Regions from separate parts of the Homo sapiens genome. Here all the other regions are linked to region 2. Evidence: promoter capture Hi-C in 16 types of primary human blood cells and fetal thymus (Javierre and others, 2016). All regions are on one chromosome and are shown on one strand. Each heading gives the region's core, a stretch centred on a gene start or on the middle of the fragment in contact. The rest is flanking DNA. Distances are from core to core; before and after follow the strand shown.

Region 1 (4,492 bases), core at 980-3,479, 740 kb after region 2:
GAACACCCTAGGCTCAGAATGCAGAGCGCTCCTGTGTGTCACATCCCCCGCAAGCACAACGTCACACACAATTCTGTCAGATTTCACTGCTGCCTCCTGCTACTGACAGGCAAGAGGGCACTGCGGGCACAAGGAGAGTAATCCTTTTTCAATGCTGTGGTTTAAAAAAGGACTCCTGCAAGCTGCAGATCATCTGTCTCCAACAGAGCTTTCCCACCTTGCCTAGGAGGAGAGGAAGTGGGCATATGACCAACATACTGATGGGAAAGGAAGGGCAAGGGCTCACATCAGAGTTCTTATCAATGAGGGAATTAGAAACTGACAACTTGGATGTGAGTGTAAAAATTACCTGCTCTGTAAACAAATAATTACAGGCTGGGCACGGTGGCTCATGCCTGTAATCCCAGCACTTTGGGAGTCTGAGGCGGGCAGACCACTTGAGGTCACGAGTTCAAAACCAGCCTGGCCTCATCTCTACTAAAAATACAAAAACTTGGCCGAGCGTGGTGGTGCATGCCTGTTAATCCCAGCTACTCAGGGGGCTGAGACACCAAAATCGCTTGAACCCGGGAGGCAGAGGTTGCAGTGAGCCAGGATCCCACCACTGCACTCCAGCCTGGGTGACAGAGTGAGACTCTGTCTCCAAAATAAAATAAAAAAATAAATAATTACAGGTGTTCATTAGGAAAGATTACTTTTGTTTTTTTTTTTGGTTAGCATATTAAGAAACCTTCCCCTTTTTAAACCATTATGTTTGTCCTTTATTATCTTTAGGACCAGGGATGGCTAAACACCAGAATATGAACGTTTTATACTGCATCAAAAAGATGAACATATGGGTTATTTAAACAATCTTAGAGTTTCAGAATATCTGAACACTCCCTACCTTCAGAACAACCCTTATGTATCAGAGGATTAAATCTGTAAGCACTTTCTGTGAGCCAGGGCAGAGATCATATTTAAATCACTAAAACAAGTCAGGCAATTCTGCAGAGCCTGACATGGTCTTGCACTTTGACAATGGCCTTCTTCAAAGCAAAGATGCTTCTTGCAAACCAAGATGTGAAGTAAGTTACAACCACCTGCTATGCAAAAAAAATGCTAGCCACCATGGCTCCTTGAAGGAGGTCATTTACAAAGTAAAACTGCCCCAAATCTCACTTGTCTTCAATACATCAGACCAAATCAACAGCTGGCTTATTTTCTCTCAAAATGCCGTTTTACTGTGTAGTTATTTAAATAACTAACATCAGTTATACTAAGGAGTTAACAACCTTAAGTTTTATCATCAGCAAGGCAGAGCTTGGATAAAAGCATCCATGGTGGGTTGCAGAGGTGATGCCTCGCTTACAGAAATACTCAGAGTTCAGAGAAGAAAAGAACTGCAAAGGTTAGTGACTAAGATCTAAACCAACATGCTGTTTTTCTTAAGACTTCACTTTTCAGTTAGCTTTTTAGTACTATTACTCAGCTACTTCTCAACTAGGTTATACTGCTCGCAAGCTTAAAAGATCAATTCTAAACACGTAAAAAAATCTGGCCAAAGTCACAAGTCATATTCCCTCTACTTTCAGATATACTTACATCTTATTTAGGGAAAAAAAAGGTTTTGGGGGCATTATGAAAAGAATAAAATTTAGGCCGGGCACGGTGGCTCATGACTATAACCCCAGCACCTGGGGAGGACGAGGTGCGAGGACTGCTTGAAACCAGGAGTTTGAGAACAGCCTGGGCAACACAGTGAGACTCTCATTTCTATTTTAAATTATTAAATTTAATTTTTTTAAATAAAAAATTGTAAAACAGAATTTATTACCAACATCATTTAACTTAGATATCTACATATCCTCAATGGATCATCTTCAACTGTTTCTCTGCCAATTTAACACCCACGAGAAAAAAAGAAATTTAAGTATACTTTGCAGTTAGCCTATTCCCAAGGCATTAAAATGCACTGCTTTATTAATTTCAGCAAAAAATGAAATATAAGAAAACCTGGTTTTCAAGTGCCACATAACAAGAGGAACTATTAAGAAACAATGATCTCATTTTAGATGTATCATTACTTACCAGGCAAAGTACTTATTACAATTTTAAAGATCAAAATTAACAAAAGCTGTTTATGAATAGAGGCAGTTATGGGCAAACCAGAACTTAAATTAGCAAGCCTTAGATGATCTTAAAATTCTAATGTTTCTAATCCATGCAAATTCCAACTTTTCCTGTTTCCTCAGAGAAATAAAGCCACACATATCCCTGCAGAGATAAGCAGAATTTTAAAATTTAGAAAGAAAATATTTAACAAAAAGTTCCTTTCTTACAGCAAACTATTTTAATCAGTTTCTGACCAACTGCTGCCTCGAATAAATTAAAGAACTATATTAACTAGTATGAAAAAGTATGGTTCTTATATAAATACCTGGCATTAAAAGAATGACAAGGTTTTCACCTACAATACAAGGTTTTCACCTGCAATAACATTTCAAGAGCATTTCAGGGGTCCTTAATGACATTTAGTGTTTTTTTTGTTGTTTTTTTTTTAAAGACAGCATAAAAGGAAAGAATGCACAGATTAAGAAAAGGACGAGATATTTTCAGGAGCTTCATTTTAATAACTTACTTTAAAAGATCTGTAAATTCTAACACCAGAGCTGTCCAACTGTTCATGCCCTCGACTCCACCACTCACAGCATTTATAGTCCAACAATATTTTAGGACTGTATAAAGGCAAAAAGCAGTTGAAACTGCCAAGTTCCCATTATGAAGTGTCCAAGTTAGGGGATATGACTGAATTCTTACAAAGTCTTGGATAAGATGTTAGCATCCGTTGACATGCCCTTGAATCTGAAAGCAGCTCATTTCAGCTTCCGTCTTTAAAAGCTGAACCTCGCCCCTCTCCCACATCAACATGAATCAATTGCCAGGCACCTCACAAGTCTTAGATGAGCCGAAATTTAAAGCTTTCTATTAACCTTTACTTAACCACTGGCCACCTTCCTTCCTACATAAGGTGACAGTGTTGTCTGTAGAGGGTTCTAGCTCCCGGCTATGTGGATTTGAAATCCAACTGTCACTAACTGTGTGACCTTGGTTAAGTGACTTCATCTCAGTTTCTTCTGTAAAATAACAAAAACAAAAAAAATTGCAAATATCTTGCAATGGGTGGGAGAATTAAATGAAATCTGTCTTAAGTGCTCAAAGAATGCCTGACACACAGTAAGCGCTTTAGAAGCGTCAGTTATGATTACAGTAATAATTCATGGACGCAAAGTGCTTAAGACAGAGCCTGGCACATTGGAAAGATAATGATAGCGTCAGCCTCGTTGGCTTCCTCTTCAGATGCACGCTCAGGAAAAGAGCGCGGAGACCTCTCCAAGATTAGAACAACTTAAAAGGATTTGGAGGGCAGGCGAAGACAGGTTCTCACACCTCTTGAGACATGAACGCTTGTTACCAAGTAACAAGAAATGGGCCCCCCAAGACCCCAGAACCACGAAAAATAAAAATAAAAGCAAGCAGGAAAAGAGCCCCCAAACCCGGCGGAACTCATGCCCTCATCAAACTGCCTTCCGAGAGGACGAGCACCGAAAAGTCCATCTCGCACAGCACGGCACACGTCGTCCAGGAGGCTGGACTGGGATCCCCAACCATCGCTCCAAAGACCCGTCCAGTGCGCGGGGGCAAACGGGTAGGGGCGGGAAACGTGGGGGTGGGGAGCGGAGTTTTCAAATTCCACGGCCGGGAGGAAGCCTGCATCCTCGTGCAATGAATGAGCGGAGCCTGGAGGGTCCGCAGCTGGCGACAAGTTGGGAATCCCGGGCTGGCCTCCCTCCGGCTGCAGTCCCCGGCCCGTGGGCCAACTCGAGGAGCTCACTCCCCACGGTGCTGCAAGCCCAACCGGCCTCCCAACTCCCCTCCCTCGAGCCCCCGGGGCCGCCTGCCGCCCTCAGGCCCGCCTCCCCCTTCAGCCGCCCGCCGCCCCCCTTACCTTCCAGCAGCCGTTGGATAATGCTGTCGATGTTGAGTTTATCTAAATCCGCCATCGCCTTCCCACCGCCGACCCTCCCGCAGCGGCGCCGCCGCCGGCTCGCGCCCGGGACTCACACCTCCTTTCCCACGCCACGAGCAGAGGCGGTGGTGGCGGCGGTGGCAGCAGCCGCGGCGGGTCCCCCCCCTGCCACCCCGCTCCCTACTTCCTCCTTCTCTCCCCACTGGAACCACGAGAAGAACAAAATGGCCGCCGACTCCTTAGACAGCCTCGGGCGGCGCACGGATGCGCGCGGGGAGTGCAGCGGCCCGGCCGGGACTTCTTTATGGGCCATAGGGGGCGCGGGAGGGGGCGGGGCCCGGGCGCTGGAGGGGGCGGGGCCCGGGCGCTGGGCGGGGCGCAGATGGCTGAGCGCAACCGCGTCCCCGCATGGGATCCTTCCGCCAAACGGGCCGAGTAAATAGGCCCGCCCCCAATGCCGGGCCCGAGCGAGAGTTGCAAAGT
Region 2 (4,318 bases), core at 451-2,950:
ATTTAGGATGGCAATGGAGGAACAATTTTGCTTTGCCCTGTACCCTATCAAGAAGCAAAACAATATGCATTCCAAGAGGAAGTTAGAAGCTAGACACATGTGAATCAAATACATCACGGTAAGTTCAACTGAAAATAGGCAAGAAAATAAGGAAGTGGAACAAATAACATTTTTAGAGAAAATGATGGAGTTTGTATAACTCACACTAACTTGGTTTAGAAAACACTTCTTTTTAAACTCCTCCATACCCCCTCCCTATCTTCAAAGGAAACTGGTAACACCTGCACTGTACGGGCCATAAAACAACCACATGAGGTTTGAGTTATCACAGTTCTATTTACAATTGGTCTCCACTTCCAAATGACAAGCTTAAGATCAGAACAGTTGCAAAGCCAGTGGTGTTCAATGATTTAATTAAGATTGTTTATCGGACACTATTGTGCCAAGAAAGCCATGTTACCTTCGAATTAACTCAAAGCCAATACATCCAAGCACCTAAAACAGCATGTAATAATCTATCCAGAGACCTGACAATTCAGTTGCAATTGCTAAGACACACTTGATCTCTAAATGTGAATATTATGTATGAACAGTTATGCATCATTATGAAGGAATGGCTTTAGCGTTTCAATGCCCCTATATTGCTGGTGATTTTGCGTTTGTTTCCGTTGTAATCAACGTATGATTTAGATAGTCAAATATAGCTTTAAGGGACTACAAGAGTTCTACTGTAGACAGCATAATGCAAAAAAGAAAAGCCTTAGATGATATGATTCTACGAGTATTCATTGAATCTTCCTCACCACTAAGCGTGATACTCCCGATTATCCTCATTGAAAAAAATGAGGAAATCAAGCAAGTGACCAAGTGAAGTCACCAGCCCAAGGTCAGCCAGAAGCAAAATCTAGTTTGAACCCAGGCCGTTCAGATCCTCAAACTTGAGACAAGCACTGCCTCCTAAGTGCTGGTTGTGTTTGGAAGACCCCGATCTCCTGGCAATTCTCCCGGGCAGAGTAGCTGTCGGATGTCAGCAGCGGGGAAGTCATCTACGGGGACCCTCTGGCGAGTCTCAGGGAGTGTCATCCTCCCCGGGCAGGACACCCAGGCGGAGAAAGGGTCTAGTGGGAGGTGACACCTGCAGCCTCTGGAGGCTGCAGCCGGGAGGACGCTCACATTTTACTTCTGTAATTGGCTTTCCTGTGGATTGCCCAAGCCCCTTCCTGTTGGGGGAGCAGCCCTGGCCCCCGTCACCTCCCCAGTTGGCCTAGGACGGAGGGAACGGGAGGGAACGAGAGGGAAGGGAGGGCCGCGAGGGACGGGGAGGGCGGCGGCCCCCTGCCCGCCCGGCTCTGACAGGCCCGGGACGGTTCCCACCCCAAGGCCGCCCAGGGACCTCTTCGTTGCGACCCTAGCCGCGGGATGCAGCCTGACCTGAGGGGGCGGCCCCGGGGTAGGGGTCCGGGCCAGGAAAGCAGAGGGGAGCGGGCCCGGCCGGTGCGACTCACCCGGCCCGCTGCAGTCAGCGCACACCTCGCTGCTCCGGAGCCGTTTCGACATGGCTCCCACCTCCCACCTGCGGGGAACTAGAGGCCGGGGGACAGCAAAGGCGGCGGTGGCGGCGGCGCTTCCGCTCTAACGGGTCCCAGCTGCGGCGGCGCTGACGGCGGCGCCTCTCCCCTCAGCGCCTTGCAGCCTTGGCACAGCACGCACGCGCGGGGAGGTGCCCTTCGGCGAGTGTCAGGTCATGTGACCGGAAAGGGCACTCTGCCTTGTCGCCATCTTGAGTGAGGGCAGGAGACTGCCCGAGTATCATCTGTCCTACCTTTAAATATTGAATTTGGGTCTTCTTCTCTGGCAGAGATTCCCCTCGTCCCAACTGATTAATACCAGGGGAAGTAGCAATATCTTGTGATGAGAACCCTGCAGCCACAACCTTCCTGAGGCAATCAATGGTCAAGTTCATTCATTCATTCCTTGATTCAACAAATGTTTATCAAGCACTTACCATGCTTTATATACTGTCCCAGCCACTGGAGAAACAGCAGTGAGCAAAGACTGAATTTCTAGTCCTTATGAAGCTTGCATTTTACTGGGGTAAAGTAAAATAAGAATATATTATATGATTCCAGGCTGGGCGTGGTGGCTCACTCTTGTAATCTCAACTCTTTGGAAGGCTGAGGCAGGAGGATCACTTGAGGCAGGAGTTCGAGACCAGCCTGGGCAACATGGTGAAACCCCATCTCTACTAAAAATACAAAAATTGGCCGGGCGCGGTGGCTCACGCCTGTAATCCCAGCACTTTGGGAGGCCGAGGCGGGTGGATCACGAGGTCAGGAGTTCAAGACCAGCCTGGCCAACATGGTGAAACCCCGTCTCTACTAAAAATACAAAAATTAGCCGGGCACAGTGGCAGGAGCCTGTAATCTCAGTTACTTGGGAGGCTGAGGCAGGAGCTTGAACCCAGGGGGTGGAGGTTGCAGTGAGCTGAGATCACGCCATTGCACTCCAGCATGGGCGACAGAGTGAGACTCCGTCTCAAAAAAAAAAAAAAAAAAAAAAAAATTAGCCGGGCGTGGTGGCGCATGCCTGTAATCCTAGATACTCAGGAGGCTGAGGCATGAGAATCGCTTGAGCCTGGGAGGTGGACGTTGCAGTGAGCAGAGATCGCGTCACTGCACTCCAGCCTGGGGGACAGAGCGAGACTGTCTCAAAAACAACTTCAACAACAACAACAAAAATAACAAAAAAGAATATATTAGATGATTCCTTAGGCTTCAGTTTTAATCTCATGTTCAAAATTAAGATAATGCATTGTTTACTTCTAGTCCACGATTTGTTTTTGTATGGCTTGCTACTTAAGAATGATTTTTACATTTTTAAAGGGTTGCGAGATGAAAATGAAGAAGAGAGAGAGGGAAATAAAGAAAAAGAGGAAGAAGAATATGCGACAAAACTTGTATGTGACCAGCAAAGTTAAACATTCATTTTGGCTAAGGACAGATGGAATAAATTATGGGAAAAATGTGATACACCTGCTGGATAGTAACCCCTCAGTAAATAGTAGCTCCCATAATTATGGATATTGCTATTATTTTCTAATTACTGTTTTTCTTCATATGCGTGGAATTTGAGAATAACAATAGCTAACATGGGATAATTTACAAAATGGTGTGAGATAAACACAATGAAATGAGGTAAATCAGTGTGAAGGAGAAAGGAGATGTGACCCTAATACCAATGACTACTTATTGTCTGTCTTACATATAAACACAGCTATGATCTCCATTCAGCAAATATTGAATGCCTGTTGTTAGCCAGGTACTATTTTGGTTTTAGATACTCTGGTAAGCAAAACGATGTGGTTCCTGTCATTATGGGGTTTTCTGATTAATGAGATAGGGAGATTTTCAATAAACACGGCATGATGAAGAAGAAGGAGAACGTTAAGTTGCAAAAGGCATCTGAAAGAATGAGAAGTGCTGGAAAAGGCCTCAGAAGCACTGGTCTTGAGTCCATCTCTACAGTGTGATAAATGTGTGATGGAGAAATAATCACAGAATTCCCACGCATTCCATGGTTAGAGTCTCCGGGTGCCATCCTGGTGCTCCTGCATCCTGTTTTGGTTTAACAACTCACAAATCTTCTGGGCTCCACATCTGTGGAGAATGGATTAGGTTGGGATTCTTGAACAGCTGTTGTTGCAGGCATCTGAAGAGCTGGATGTGCATACACTCAGAGGGCAGAGGGAATGTTTTCACAATGCATTAAATAGCTTCATCCAGCTATGTGGTCTAGTTGTAGACAGCTGAGCTGAAGCAGCAGCAGAAAGTTCAAGCCCATGAGTAGCTAGCTGTAAGTTGATTTGGTTCTTCATTGAGTCAAGGAGGCATAGTGCCTGAAACTCAAAGAATAAACTTCATATTCGCAGACTGTGGTCAAATATGTATATTATTTATCAGTCCTTTCAGCCATAACCTCAAATCCAAAAAGCTAGCTTAAAAATGACATTCATACATGGACTAAATCACCACCATAGTTAGCTATTGAATCATAACCCGGTTCGGAGTTCAAATAGAAGCGGTTCTCAACTGAGGACGATTTTTCTCCCCGAGACGACATTTGGCAATATCTGGAGAGACATGTTTTGGGGAGTGCTACTGGCATTGAGTGGGGAGAAAGACCAGGGCAACTGCTCAGCATCCTACAAGGACCGGACAACCCCCACACAAAAACTGCCCAGTTCAATATGTGCCGAGGTTGAGAAATCATGAAGTAGAAATATCCCCTTTTATGCAAATACTGTATTTGAAGCCACTTC
Region 3 (4,669 bases), core at 2,147-4,646, 610 kb after region 2:
TCCCAGCTACTTGGGGGACTGACGCACGAGAATCGCTTGAACCCAGGAGGTGGAGGTTGCAGCGAGCTGAGATCGCGCCATTACACTGCAGCCTGGGCGACAAGAGCGAAACTCTGTCTCAAAAAATAAAAATAAAAATAAAGCATGACTCATTCAAATATAGAATGGAGGGCTCGGCATGGTGGCTCATGCCTGTAATCCCAGCACTTTGGAAGGCTGAGGCAGGCAGATAATTTGAGCCCCAGAGTTCGAGACCAGCCTGGGCAATAAGGTGAAACCCTGTCTCTACAAAAAATACAAAAATTAGCAGGGCATGGTGGTGTGCGCCTATAGTCTCAGCTACTTGAGAGGCTGAGGTGGGCAGATGGCATGAGCCCGGAGGTGGAGGTTGCAGTCAGCCAAGATTGCACCATTGTACTCCAGCCTGGGTGACAGAATGAGACCCCATCTCACACAAAACAAAAAACAAAACAAACAAATATAGAATTGACACGTCAGAAAAGTATTCTACTTGTCTAAGAGGAAACAGTCGGATGGTGAAGTTGGTTCAGAGAATGTTTTGAAGAAGTAGGTACTTGAGGAAGTGGGAATTTTAGATACAAAACTGGTTAATCTTCTGCAGGGTAATAAGAACTATAAGCTATGGGATTCTCTTTTGTACTGGAGAGAAATAATTCAAAACTCTACTGGACAAGGCCAGGAACAGTGGCTCATGCCTGTAATCCCAGCATTTTGGGAGGCCGAGGCAGGCAGATCACTTGAAGTCAGGAGCCTGAGACGGTAAAACCCCATCTCTACTAAAAAAAAAAAAAAAAAAAAATTAGCTGGTGGAGCATGCCTGTAGTCCCAGCTACTCGGGAGGCTGAGGCAGAAGAATTGCTTGAACCCAGGAGGTGGAGGTTGCAGTGAGCTGAGATCATGCCACTGCACTCCAGCCTAGGCAACAGAGTGAGACTCCATCTCAAAAACAAAAACAAACAAAAAACAACCAAAAACTGTACTGGACAAAAATCTGGGCCTTTAATCAATCAATACCTATGCAAACAAAGGAACAGTCCCTGGCCTATATAAGTAGTTGGTGGGCTACATCTGGCCTGGCTGCTTGTGTTTGTAATAAGATTTTAATTTTATTATTTTTAAAAATAAGAGATGGGGTCACACTATGTTGGTCTTGAACTCTTGGCCTCAAGCAATCCTCCCGCCTCGGCCGCCCAAAGTGCTGGGATTACAGGTGTGAGCCACCATGCCCGGCCTAAAATACAGTTTTATTGGAACACAGCCATACCCAATTATTTCTGTATCTCCCCAGGATGCTTTTGCTGTACAGAAATGGTGGACCATGATGACCGATAGAGTTGAGTAGTTGACAGATAGGAACCAGCCACAAAGCCTAAAATATTTACTACCTGGACCTTTACAGAAAGAGTTTGCTGATCCCTGCTAGAGAATTAAGTAATCTTTGGGTGAGCTTGTGAAACAAAGTCCTTGATGACATTGAAAGAACTACACTGCCCTCTCTTGGTCTTATTTCCAAAATTTGGATAATTTTTCTTAAAAAGGAGATGTTTGGTTTAAAAATTGGTGGGGCATTTTGAATTGTTATCCGTGGTCTGTATTTCCTAAATCTTCCCGTTCACTCACCCCATAACCCTGCCACCCTCTTTCTACATTGGCGACAATGCCTCTTAGTATCTGTCAAACTTGCATAACGAGATTTAGAAAATATGATTAAGTACAGAGTTTATTCAAGTGCAAGGTTTGAGGATGATCACCTGCGAAACACATACTCCAAAGGAATGGGATCAGTGTTGGAAAGAGAGGAAGCTAAGGTTTCACTTATATAGATAGAAACAGTTGCAGCTGAGTTGCAACATTTTCCATCCAAGGCCCATATGTATGTTACAGTCATTTGATTAAAACAGCTTGCTACATTTCAAGGAAGATGCTTTAACATTCTATGAAGAGGAGTAATGTCCTGAGAGGGTCTTATCTCTGGTGCTAGTGGGTCATTTCTTTCTTTTTTTTTTTCTTGAGATGGAGTTTCCCTCTGTCATCCAGGCTGGAGTGCAGTGGCGTGATCTTGGCTCACTGCAACCTCCGCCTCCTGGGTGCAAGTGATTCTCCTGCCTCAGCCTCCTGAGTAGCTGGGATTACAGGCCTGTGCCACCATGCCTGGCTATTTTTTTTTTTTGGTAGAGACAGGGTTTCCCCATGTTGGTCAGGCTGGTCTTGAACTCCTGACCTTGTGATCTGTCTGCCTCGGCCTCCCAAAATGCTGGGATTACAGGCGTGAGCCACTGTGTATTGCCCAGGCTTGAGTGCAGTGGTGCAATCTCAGCTCACTGCAACCTCTGCCTCCTGAGTTCAAGCAATTCTTCTGCCTCAGCCTCCCAAGTAGCTGGGATTACAGGTGCCCACCACCACGCCCAATTTTTATATTTTTAGTAGAAACGGGGTTTCGCCATATTGGCCAGGCTGGTCCCCAGCTCCTGATCTCAAGTGATTTGCCTGTCTTGGCCTCCCAAAGTGCTGGGATTACAGGCGTGAGCCACCGCACCCGGCCTACTGGGTCATTTCTAATCATTTACAGGACAAGCAGAAGTTGCAACTGCATACTACATGGCCACATTCCTCTCAAGGCTCAGAAGAAAGTTCCAGCAGCTTTAAGTTTGAATTATTTAATTTAAAATATCCCAGCTCTTGGCTGGGCACGGTGGCTCACACCTGTAATCCCAGCACTTTGGGAGGCCGAGGCAGGTGGATCACCTGAGCTCAGGAGTTCGAGACCAGCCTGCCAACATGGCAAAACCCTGTCTCTAATAAAAATGCAAAAATTAGCCAGGCATGGTGGTGGGCGCCTGTAGTCCCAGCTACTCGGGAGGTTGAGACATGAGAATCATTTAAACTTGGGAGGCAGAGGTTGCAGTGAGCCTATATTGGGCCACTGCACTGCAGCCAGGGCAACAGAGTGAGACTCCATCTCAAAATAAATAAATAAATAATAAAATAAAATATCCCAGCTCTTTCCTCTGAGGGTGGAACTTATGAAAGGCTCTTTTTAAGTGCAGGTAGGCCTGGAAAGCAATTGGTGGTGAGTAATGTCCTTTGCAACATCGTTTTTGCTCGAGAAGGCATTCTGTTTCTGACTCCTGTTAAGGCTTCTGTAACTGAAGGCCCATTCTCATGGAAGCTTTCCTTGGGAGGGCCCCTCAGCTCCTTAGAATGAAGCTCTAGAACTGTTGGAAGTTCTGAGAGGGCAATGCTGGTGCCTGCTTGACCACTGCTGTTTCTGGGTCCGGGCACATAGTAGGTGCTCAGTAAATATTTGTTGAGTGAACTAGAGCCAATGAAAGAATAGCATTTTGTCCTCTGCTCCGGGTCAACCCTGTGAGAGGAACCAAGTTTTGGTGACAAAGGCTGCCATCTGCAGGGAATAGGTGAAATGGCATTATTCAGAATTGCTAAATCCTGAGGACCATACAATCGATTTTGAGGCAAGATTAACATATATTTTCTCCTTTCGCTTTCTGGAGAATTAACATCATCTTGTCTTTTCCAATTAAGGAAACCTGAATCCTGCACCCTTTCTCAAATAACATTTTTAAGCTTTTATTTATTTATTTATTTTTTAAGACGGAGTCTTGCTCTGTCACCCAGGCTGGAGTGAAGTGGCGTGATCTCGGCTCACTGCAACCTCCGCCTCCCGGGTTCAAGCAATTCTCTTGCCTCAGCCTCCTGAGTAGCTGGGACTACAGGTGTGTACCACCACGCCCGGCTAATTTATTGTATTTTTAGTAGAGACAGGGTTTCACCGTGTTAGCCAGGATAGTCTCGATCTCCTGACTTCATGATCCGCCTGCCTCGGCCTCCCAAAGTGCTGGGATTACAGGCGTGAGCCACCAAGCCTGGACAGCTTTTGTTGTCTTTTAAATGGAGACAGGGTTTTGCTCTGTCACCCAGGCTGAAGTGCAGTAGCATGATCATAGCTCACTGCAGCTTCCAACTCCAGGGCTCAAGCGATCCTCCCATTTCAGCCTCCCGAGTAGCTAGGACTGGTGTGTGGCAACACATCTGGCTAATTTGTTTTTGTTTTTTTGTGGAGAAAGAGTCTTGCTATATTGTCCAGGCTGCATTTTAAAGCTTTTTGAGGGCTTAGTTAGCCATGCTGCATACTGTATACACCATGCTGTATGCACAAAACTGGTACCTAAGTACCACTATTTCCCTGTTTTATAGACGAAGAATCTGAACACAGAAAGCATGCCCAAAGTTATAGTGCTAGCAAGTGGCAGAACTAGGGATTTGAACCCAAACACTGTGGCTTCAGAAAGTGTGCTCGTTTTCTCTTTTCTTTTCTTTCCTTCCTTCTTTCTTTTTTTTTTTTTTTTTAAGACAGAGTCTCACTCTGTCACCCAGGCTGGAGTGCAGAGGCAATCTCAGCTCACTGCAACCTCTGCCTCCCGGGTTCAAGGGATTCTCGTGCCTCAGCCTCCCAAGTAGCTGTGACTACAGGCGCCCGCCACCAGGCCCCAGTAATTTTTGTATTTTTTAAACATTTTTCAGTAGAGAAAGGGTTTCACCATGTTGGCCAGGCTGGTCCGGAACTCCTGACCTCAAGTGATCTGCTCGCCTTAGCGTCCCAAAATGCTGGGATTACAGGCGTGAGTCA
Region 4 (4,180 bases), core at 1,301-3,800, 520 kb before region 2:
GGAGGAACAAGTGCTGGGATCTGGCGTGTGTGCTCCAGGGGCTCTTTCCGCGGCCCTTTCCACCTCTTTTCACTTTGGGGACGGTAGGCCTTTATAAACGGACTAATGCTGGGTGATTTGTTCCTGTGGTTGTTGATGCCGAGGAAAGACTCTGGGCCCCAGGACTCACCTAAACTGGAGTTCGAATACTGTTCGCTCGCTGTGTGACCTTGGGTGAGTTCCCTCACCTCTCTGAGCCTCAGTTTCCTTCTGTGTAAATGGAGTAATTAGCAGGTTTCACAGAGGGTGTGAATACGTTTTAGTACCGTGCCTGACACCTAGTTCTGAATAAAGAAAAACTTGATCGTAATTTAACTCCAGCTTAGCCCCCACAGGCAATCTTGCACTCTCAACTTCTCTTTGCTTGGCCATTCTGTGAACGGGGGAGCCCTGGATCTTGTTTGTTTTACTTAGTGATAAATAACTGTTTTGGATATACATGGATTCAGATTCAAAAGCATCCACCTTAGATAGGCTGTAGCTTTCAATAAATAGTAGCTGTTAATATGAATAGTCTCTTTAAGTCGTGTTTCCTATTCTTTAAATAAAAATTAGATTATTGAGGCTGGCCACGGTGGCTCACGCCTGTAATCCTAGCACTTTGGGAGGCCGAGGCGGGCGGATCACCTGAGGTCAGAAGTTCAAGACCAGCGTGGCCAACATGGTGAAACCGCATCTCTACTAAAAATACAAAAATTAGCCGGGCGTGGTGGCGGGCGCCTTTAATCCCAGCGACTTGGGAGGCTGAAGCAGGAGAATCACTTGAACCTGGGAGGCGGAGGTTGCAGTGAGCAGAGTTCGCGCCGCTGCACTCCAGCCTGGGCAACAAAGTGAGACTCCGTCTCAAAAAAACAAAGATTATCGAGAACTGATAGAGCTGTTGAAAAGACAAGTTGGTTAAATAATCTGTGCAGTGTCTGATACACCGTCTGCCCAGAACAAGTGGTGGTGGTCATTAAACCTGGTGGCCCAGCTTTTCCTACTGCACAGGGACAATCCTCTTGGCTTAGTCAGCAGTTGGTATTTATGATGCTTCAGCTTTGGAAATATAGAGGTAAGACAAGAGTCTGAATCCTGCCTCTTAGTTATTACAGCCTTGACTCTGCCACATACTAATGGTCTAGACTGGAGTAGATGAGATCATGAATGATCTTCTCATAGGACTCCTCTCCTTATTAGATGAGATCACTTATAAAGGACTTGACACATAATGGGCACTCATTTACTTTTTTAAATGATCTTGGTTATCACCAACCTCTTATTTTCTAATCTTTCTACCTATATGATTCTTGTTTCCCTAACTAGATTGCAAGCTTCTTAAGGACAATACAATAAAGCTCACTTACATGCTACATGCTTTTAGATATCCTATATTAATATTTTCCCATTTAATCCTAATCACAATGTTGTGATGACTAAATTGAGGTACAAGAAGGATAAATGTTGCATTTAATCCTTTCAGCAACCCTAGGACATAGACACTATTATTACCCTCGATTTACACATAAGGAAACTGAGGCCTAGAGAGGATAAGTAACTTGGCCAAATGTCGGATAGAAGGAGTACTAAAAAGAACCAAGGCCCGCTTTCTCTGATGCAAGACTTTTTCTGCTGCGCACAGCCTTTTCTTTGGTTCTCCATGGCATTTAGCAAAATAAGTACTTAATAAACACTTGATTGTGTGTTTTATTAATTGACGAACTATAGTATACACTGTGCAGGTGGAGAAGGTATATAGGAAAGGATGAGAAAAACTGTAAAGTGTAGGCTATTATATGATATGAACAGAAATCAACCAATAACATTGCTGAAGGGATAATAATCTCAAGGAAGGGGATAAGAGTAATTTCTTATTCTGGGAGGGCCCCTGGGAGAAGTGAAAGTTTTAAGATCGTCTTACAGTGCTTAGGTACAGTTTGCATGCAACTTTGTTTTTCTTTTGGGAAGAGGCTCCCTCTTCCCCTTCTAATTCCATGGACCCTCTGCCATTGAGGCACTGTCTGCATGTCATGGAGGGAGCATATCATTGTGCTTGTGGCTTGGGCCCTGCTCTTTTGCAGTCCTGAGGAGCTTGAATCTGTTACTCACTCTAAACAACAGGGCCAGGAGTTCATAGCCCAAGGGACAGGACTGGTGAATCTTAGTGCATTTAAGATAGGAAAAAAGTTAATGGGTGAGAAATGTCAGACTGCCAGCATTATTTCCTACCCAGAGAACCTTAGTAACTGTCCAGGTGGGAGCCTCTGCTGAAGAGTTTTTTTTTTTTTTTAATCCTTGTGTCTATAAAAATAATACACCAGTTAGACTTCCTGACTATACACTCTACAATGTGCACTCAAGTACCTCCATAGGTACCTGATAAGCATCATCACATTTAGTCCTCATTATCAACCTCTAAGCCAATTAATAGATGAAGATGGAAAGACTCAGGGCCCAGTGTGGTGGCTCATACCTGTAATCCTAACATTTTGGGAGGCCAAGGCAGGAGGATCTCTTGAGCCCAGGAGTTTGAGACCACCAACCTGGGCAATATAGCGAGACCCCACCTCTACAAAAAATTTAAAAACTAGCCAGATGTGGTGGTATGTACCTGTGGTCCCAGCTACTTGAGAAGCTGAGGTGGGAGAATCGCTTGAGCCTGGGAGGTAGAAGCTGCAATGAACCATGATTGCACCACTGCACTCCAGCTTGGATGACAGAGCGAGACCCTGCCTTAAAAAAAAAAAAAAGACTTAGACATTCTCCCTATAGTATGTGGCAGAGCTAGGGACTGGCTCCAACTCTGTGTGACTCCCAAAGCCCGTGTGCCCCTCACTGTGCAGTGCTGCTTCACCATGTGCATGCTGTGGAAAATTTAGAAAATACAGACCAATTAAGAAAAATTTCCCGCAATTTCAGTACCTCAAAACAGCCACTGGTAACATGTTGGTATAGTTCATGCTAGTTTTGTATCTGTGTGTGTGTACATTTTTCTTTAGGTAATTGGGGTCTTATTGGTCCACAGGCAGCCCTTTATTCACTTCTAAGGCATAAACGTTTTTCCATTATCATTAAAAATGTCAAACACGCTGAGGCAGGAGAATGGCATGAACCCGGGAGGCGGAGCTTGCAGTGAGCCAATATCGCGCCACTGCACTCCAGCCTGGGCGACAGAGCAAGACTCCGTCTCAAAAAAAAAAAAAAAAATGTCAAACATGGCCGGGCACAGTGGCTCACACCTGTAACCCCAACTGAGATAGGGTATGGTGGCACACACCTGTAATCCCAGCTACTTGGGAGGCTGAAGCAGGAGAATCGCTTGAACCTGGGAGCAGAAGTTATAGTGAGCTGAAATTATGCCGCTGCACTCCAACCTCAGCGACAGAGTGAGACTATCTCAAAAAAAAAAAAAAGGAAAATGTCAAATATAATTTTCAGTAGCTCTTTAACATTCCATGACCTCTAAGTTATTTTGCTTCCCATCACAGCTGTAATTCAACAACAACTTTGGGATTTATTTTCAACATATTCCCTTTAAACTGTGAGGATTGAAGAGATACAGTATAACATTTAGATGAGACATTAAATAAAGAGGACCCAGTGGTGTTTTTAAAAAACCATTGGCATTGTAGTTACTACTTTTACTCAGTGAGGAAGATGTATGATACCACACCTATAAAATTTAACCCTAAGTCTGGATTTTTTTCTTCTGCTTCTGCCAGAAAAAATAACAAGCTTTTCTGAAGTGAGAAGCTGTTCTCAGCCACGAGTCCTGTGCAAGATCACTAATGATTACCTGGCATTTCTGCGACACAGGCAGGTCCTCAGGTGAGATCTCCAGACTTTACTGCTGGGGCAGGAAGCGTAAATGATTCAGAAGATGGCTACCGTTTCTCTCCAAGCCTTTTATAAGTTGGTGCAAAAGTAATTACGACTTAGTGTTTTTTTAAAAAAGTTGAAACCCACAATTACTTTTGTACCAACCTAATACCTTCCCTCCTGTGGTCAAGTGGGCTCTGTTAGTTTGTTTCAAGGATTACTGATGATGTTTGACAGATCACTGTTGAGAAGGGGTCACAGAGGTCCCTTGATATGTTCATGTGGTGGGAGGCTTGCACCAACTTTTTTTTGGTTATAAAAGGGTATTATTTTATTGTCCTTA

Evidence for each region. Contacts are between HindIII fragments. The CHiCAGO score rates a contact against its expected background, and 5 or more counts as called.
Region 1: a contact is called between a fragment that was not itself captured here and the fragment with the promoter of GIT2 in region 2, in 2 of 17 cell types (fetal thymus and total CD8 T cells). The highest score is 7.0, in fetal thymus.
Region 3: a fragment that was not itself captured here is called in contact with the fragment with the promoter of GIT2 in region 2 in 1 of 17 cell types (fetal thymus); the score reaches 6.6 in fetal thymus.
Region 4: a contact is called between a fragment that was not itself captured here and the fragment with the promoter of GIT2 in region 2, in 3 of 17 cell types (neutrophils, naive CD8 T cells and naive CD4 T cells). The highest score is 9.0, in neutrophils.

The regions. Positions count from the first base shown.
Region 1 is chr12:110,738,665-110,743,156 of GRCh38, forward strand. PPP1CC (protein phosphatase 1 catalytic subunit gamma) reads right to left here and starts at 4,227. Exons shown (of 7, transcript NM_002710.4): 1 at 3,989-4,227. The coding sequence starts at 4,043. RefSeq lists an enhancer at 3,952-4,460 and silencers at 4,098-4,157, 4,318-4,457. The HindIII fragment of the contact is 1,457 bases long and covers 1,502-2,958 here.
Region 2 is chr12:109,994,668-109,998,985 of GRCh38, forward strand. It overlaps GIT2 (GIT ArfGAP 2), which reads right to left and starts at 1,701. Exons shown (of 20, transcript NM_057169.5): 1 at 1,506-1,701. The coding sequence starts at 1,557. RefSeq lists enhancers at 972-1,021, 1,712-1,871 and a silencer at 1,352-1,441. The HindIII fragment of the contact is 1,710 bases long and covers 367-2,076 here.
Region 3 is chr12:110,598,969-110,603,637 of GRCh38, forward strand. No RefSeq gene overlaps it. Among named protein-coding and RNA genes, the nearest start is that of TCTN1, 13 kb to the right of the region's middle. The HindIII fragment of the contact is 416 bases long and covers 3,189-3,604 here.
Region 4 is chr12:109,477,897-109,482,076 of GRCh38, forward strand. It overlaps UBE3B (ubiquitin protein ligase E3B), which reads left to right. Exons shown (of 28, transcript NM_130466.4): 1 at 1-213; 2 at 3,741-3,846. Among named protein-coding and RNA genes, the nearest start is that of UBE3B, 2.4 kb to the left of the region's middle. The HindIII fragment of the contact is 2,401 bases long and covers 1,351-3,751 here.